2 separate regions of the Homo sapiens genome follow, and region 2 is linked to region 1. The links are contacts of gene promoters, found by promoter capture Hi-C in blood cells and fetal thymus (Javierre and others, 2016). All regions are on one chromosome and are shown on one strand. Each heading gives the region's core, a stretch centred on a gene start or on the middle of the fragment in contact. The rest is flanking DNA. Distances are from core to core; before and after follow the strand shown.

What was found. Contacts are between HindIII fragments. The CHiCAGO score rates a contact against its expected background, and 5 or more counts as called.
Region 2: a contact is called between a fragment that was not itself captured here and the fragment with the promoter of IP6K1 in region 1, in 1 of 17 cell types (M2 macrophages). The highest score is 5.2, in M2 macrophages.

What each region holds. Positions count from the first base shown.
Region 1 is chr3:49,785,156-49,787,855 of GRCh38, reverse strand. It overlaps IP6K1 (inositol hexakisphosphate kinase 1), which reads left to right and starts at 1,314. Exons shown (of 6, transcript NM_153273.4): 1 at 1,314-1,502. RefSeq lists silencers at 451-615, 1,351-1,700 and enhancers at 791-860, 947-1,636. The HindIII fragment of the contact is 18,469 bases long and covers 1-2,700 here.
Region 2 is chr3:49,977,181-49,980,104 of GRCh38, reverse strand. All of the region lies in intron 5 of RBM6 (RNA binding motif protein 6), which reads right to left. Among named protein-coding and RNA genes, the nearest start is that of RBM6, 38 kb to the right of the region's middle. The HindIII fragment of the contact is 6,129 bases long and covers 1-2,924 here.

The DNA of each region.
Region 1 (2,700 bases), core at 65-2,564:
ATTTTGGCCAGGCTGGTCTCGAACCTCTGACCTCAAGTGATCCACCTTCTTTGGCCTCCCAAAGTGCTGGATTACAGGCATGAGCCACTGCGCCTAGCTAGGAGGACCTCCCCTTCTGAACCAGTTATGGTATCCCAGGGCCAGGAAGAAGCTGAAAGCCTTCTGTGGGAACAAAACAAAGCAAAACAAAAACGCTTCATGGGGCTTCCACCAAAGTTAGTGTTTTAAGGCACGCCTCAGGAACAGCAACTTGGAAGCAGGTTGTTCCAGGAAGTGGTTGTAGGCAGATTTTTCCTGAGTTCTTCCCCTGCTCTGAGGGCTCATTAAATCTTCCTCTGAGAAGCTCCACTTTTATCTTCATTTTACAGATGGGACAACCAAAGCTAAAGAGAGGCTAAGGCTCAAAAGTCAGAGTTAGCTAGTTGGGGCATTTGGGTGTGGGCCCAGGCCACGTAACTTCATCTGTTGTTCTAAGCCTGAAGCCAAGCCCAGAGTTAGGTGTTCTGTATGGGGAGCAAGGTGTGACCATCTTCCTGGGACCATTAGTCTGCTTGGGAGGCCGGTCATGACAGTCCAGGGCAAAAGATGCTGTCACAGGATCTCAAGACAAGATGCTCTAGGGAAGAGAAAAGGGAGTGCCCGCTGTGTGTCAGGACTTGTGCTAGGCTCTAAACCTCAGGCAGGAAAGCATGGGCAATGAGCCAGAGGCTGCTGTGGCAGCACAGACTGCGGTACCTCGAGGCTAGTAAGGGACAAAGCGTGGGAAGCTGGGATAGAGGCTCCTCACACTCTGAAACCAGCAGGAGGAGGTGCGAGACCCAGCACCTCCATTTCTAGAGGTGGCGTGACCTTGGCTCGGCCTCCCCTCTCTGAGCCTCAGTTTCCTCTCCAGAGTGAACTGGGGGCTGCACCCCCCTTCTCCCAGAGTGGGGGACAAAAAAACGAATAGCACACCGCTGAGATTCCCTGTGTGTGCGCAAGTGTATGACAAGACGCCGCCGGTACCGCACGAGGGCCAGGGACGCAGAGAGGCCAAGGGCGCTCCGGCCTCGTAGTAGCCAGCGAAAACTCCGCCGCCAGCCACTCCGGGAACGAAGCGCATGCGCCAACCCATGCCGTCACAGTCACGTGCCCCACGCTTTCGGCAGAGGCCCTGAGAGGCAGACTCTGACTGACACGTGAGCTGACCTGTCAGCAGGAAGCACTTCCCCTGGCGACGAGCAAAAAGACTGTTGATTGGGGATAGCACCCCCTCGGGGGCGGGTTCTTTGCAGTCCTGGTTACTATGACGCCCGGCCCCCGCCCCCTCGGCTAGCCGCCATCTTGTTGTTGATCCGTACCCAGTGGGCAGCGCCGGGAGCTGGACCAAGCGGCCGGTGAGAGGCCGCTGTAGCGGTGCTCAGCCACCTGTGCTGCCTGCCAGGGGGCGGGCCGAAACCTGGAGGCCCGGGGGGCCCAGCTCCCGTAGGGAGCCGTGGGCGCTCGGTGCCCGGGCCGGGCAGGTGAGTGACAGGAGCCGGGCCGATAGACCGGCCTGACGCCCGCGGGGAGGGCGGTGGCGGGCGCGGGGTTGGAGTGGGCGCGTGTGGGGTCGGGGCTCCGGTGGGGCCATCACTGGAACATCGCTCGAGCGTCCTGACCGGCCGCCCGCCGAGCCTCCCAGATGCTGGCACCGAAGCCGGGGGGACAGCCGGTGTGGAGGACGGAGAGCGCCAGTGCCTGAGGGTTGGCCGGCTAGTAGCGGGAAACCAGCTTCTCTGACCGAAGCTCTGGACTCCGCTGATCCGGAGCGCTAAAGTGTGTCCGGTGCCACCCTGATGCTCTCCTGGGAGTTATGTTGCTCCTGGCTGAGAAATAGACTTACCTCTTTCTTAGATAGCGTTCCTGCGAGTGATTTTCAGGACGCTGGATGCTAAGACTAGACGAAGCAAGCCAAAGCCCCCGCGAGCCAGGCAGGCCGGTGTCACGGCCCTATGATTATGGCAAGGGGGACCCTCTGCCTGGCTGCTGCTTCCTGAGACCCGTTCGGAACCTCACGTGTACCTCGAAGCTCACCGTTTTCCTCGCAAAGAACCTGGTTAAATGTCCATAATGGCTGAGTTTTATTTTGGAACATAATTTCTTTGGTTCTTCACCACCACTTTTTGGAGAGTGGTAATGTCTTCCTCTTTTTGCTTTAGGAGAAAGTGAGTATTATGGTGATGACTTGATTTTATCTCCTAAAGGGATGCTCGCCATAGGAGACAAAGGAAACGTAGGAGTGTCTTAGAATCGGAAAAAGAAACTTGTTTTTGTTGTGGATGATATGGAACTGGCAAATTAACTGTTTTTTTTCTTTTTTTTCTTTTGAGACAGAGTCTCTCGCTCTGTTGCCCAGGCCGGAGTGCAGTGGCGCGATCTCGGCTCACCACAGCCTCCACCTCCCGGGTTCAAGCGATTATCCTGCCTCAGCCTCCCGAGTAGGTAGGACTACAGACACGCGCCACCATGCCCGGCTAATTTTTGTATTTTTAATAGAGACGGGGTTTCACCATGTTGGCCAGGCTGGTCTCGAACTCCTGACCTCGTGATCCACCCCCCTTGGCCTCCCAAAGTGCTGGGGTTACAAGTGTGAGCCACTATGCCCGGCGCAAATTAACTTTTAACAGTACTAAAATTATCTTGCTCAGTGAAAACACCTTCAAGCCCCTTTCCTGTGAA
Region 2 (2,924 bases), core at 54-2,553, 190 kb before region 1:
TGCTTGAATCCAGGAGGCAGAGGTTGCAGTAAGCTGAGATCGCGCCATTACGCTCCAGCTTGGGTGACCAAACGAGACTCCGTTTAAAAAAAAAAAGAAAAGAAAAAAGATGTTCTCTAACATAACCACAGTAGTTATCAACTCGGGGAATTTAACATTGATACATCATCACCACAATCAAGATATAGAACAATTCCATTATACCCAAAAATTCCCTCATGCTTCCGCTTTATAGTTAACTCCTCCCCCAATACCCTGGCCACCACTATTTCCAATCCCTAAAATTTTGTCCCTTCCAGAATGTCACATAAGTGAAATCACACATACACATATAGTATGTAGCCTTTTTAAAAAATTGTAAGCTGGCTGGGCACAGTGGCTCACTCCTGTAATGCTAGCTCTTTGGGAGGCCCAGGCAGGTAGATAACCTGAGGTCGGGAGTTCAAGACCAGCCTGGCCAACATGGCGAAACCCCGTCTCTACTAAAAATACAAAAAATTAGCCAGGTGTGGTGGCACACACCTGTAATCCCAGTTACTTGGGAGGCTGAGGAAGGAGAATCGTTTGAACCCGGGAGATGGAGGTTGCAGTGAGCCGAGGTCATGCCACTGCACTCCTGCCTACACAACGGGAGCAAGATTTCATCTCAAAAAAAAAAAAAAAAAACAAAGTAAGCAAATACACATCAAATAAAATGCATCATTTTAAAGTGTACAATTCAGGAGCATTAAGTACATTCACAATGTCATGCAACCATCACTACTACCTAGTTCCAGAACACTTCTATCAGCCCAAAAGAAGTACCATAACCATTAGGGAGTCGTTCCCCATTCCCGCTTAGCCCCTGGCAACCACCAATCTGCTTTCTATCTCTACGGGTGTGCCTTCTCTAGATATTTCATATAAACTGAATTGCACAATATTTGGTCTTTTGTGTCTGGCTTCTTTTATAATGTTTTCAAGGTTCATCCAACTTGTAGCATACATCAGTATTTCATTCCTCCTTATGGTAGTGTATATATCCTTATGAGTCTAGTTTCTTTCACTCAGCATATTGCCATTGAGATTCATCCATGTTGTTAGGTGCATGAGTAGTTTCTTCTTCATTGCTGAGAAGTATTCCATTTTATATATATACTAGAGTTTGTCTAGTCACCAAAAGACATTTTACTCCTGGTACTTTTTCCAGAAATAATCATATAATTCAAGATAATTTACAATTCATGGGGTTATAATGTATTTGTAAATGGCAAATGAAAAATTCAAATATACACAACATATATAGGTCCAAAATCTCTTATCTACAATTCCAAAATCCCATAAATGTCAAGTTTTTTGGTAAAATTCAACAAACTCATTTTGAGGCAAATCCTGGCCTATACTGTGAGACTTTATTTACTCCTGTTAGTGAGAATATTAATAATTTTGCAGCGTAAGTATTATGTCTGAGTACACATTCCCCTGGGAGATATAATTCCCATATGATCTATGTAAACTACATTTCTATAACTTGAAAAATTCATAAGCTCATTTAACCTCACAGGTTCTAGATAAAATTGTGACCCTGTACTTATACAGCTCTAGAGGAGACAAAAATTACACTAATACATTACTAGAGTCAACGAAGAGGCGTTAATCTTCTCTCCTGTGTTATAGATCAGCCCTCCATTACATCAACTAACAGGACAGACTGTACTCCACAATTCCCCTCTTATGAGCAATATCCATCCTGCATGGTCTCTGCAGGTCATCACTCAGCCTAAAATATTTATTACCAGTTTTCACCTATGAATGTCACCTTTTTGTCTGTGCATACTGGTTCACATCTGTAATCCCAGCACTGTGGGAGGATGAGGCAGGAGAATCACTTGAACCCAGGAGTTCAAGACCAGCCTGGGAAACATAGTGAGACCGCGCCTCTACAAAAAGTTTAAAAATTAGCCTGCCATGGTGGTACGCACCTGTAGTCCCAAATACTCTGGAGGTTGAGACAGAAGGATCACTTGAGCCGAGGGGTTTGAGGTTACAGTAAGCTATGATCGTACCAATGCACTCCAACCTGGGCAACAGAGTAAGACCCTTTCTCTTATAAAAAAAAATTTTTAAGTCACTGTTACTACTAAGATTCACATTTTTTTTTCTTTTTCTTTTTAAGAGACAAGGTCTTGCTATGTTGCTCAGGCTGATCTCAAATTCTCAGGCTCAAAAAATTCTCCCATCTCAGACTCCCAAGTAGCTAGGACTACAGGTGTGCAACACCATGCCTGACTACCACATATGATCTTTTAACAGTAAACACTATAGTTCTTAGAACATCTGATTGTTCCAAGACATATTCTTCAACAGATATGTAAGACCTAAGCTGCACTGCTGTGAAACCTACACTACCCTTTTATGTTCCTCACCTGAGGGGAAATCACAGCTGCTCTTCACATACACCATAAATAATAATCTATTCCATGCATATAGGGAACCTACCGAGTGTCAAGCACTGGTGGAAACAAGAAGGAATAAGGCTCCTGCTGACATTCCTCTCTAGTGAGAGAAATAAGATACACAAAACCACGGAGAAAAATATCAGTGATAGATCCAATACCACTGACAGATTCAATCCAATCAGTGACCAGTGATAGATCAGTGATAGATCCAACTGAAAAATACCAGTGATAGAAATATCCAATCAGTGATAGATCCAAACAAGGATATGATGGAAAACAACTGCCCGATGATTTTAGATTTGAGAGTGACACAAGGCCTCAGAGACGTGAAACTGAAGCCAAGAACTAAACCCCAGAAGACAAGTAAAGATCAGAGAGAAGAGTAGTGCAAAGACCCTGACACAGAAAGAAGTTTGTATTGGTCAAAGACAAGAGAAAAGCTCAGTGTGGCTACAGCAAAATAGGGTAGGTGGAGGGCAGTACTGA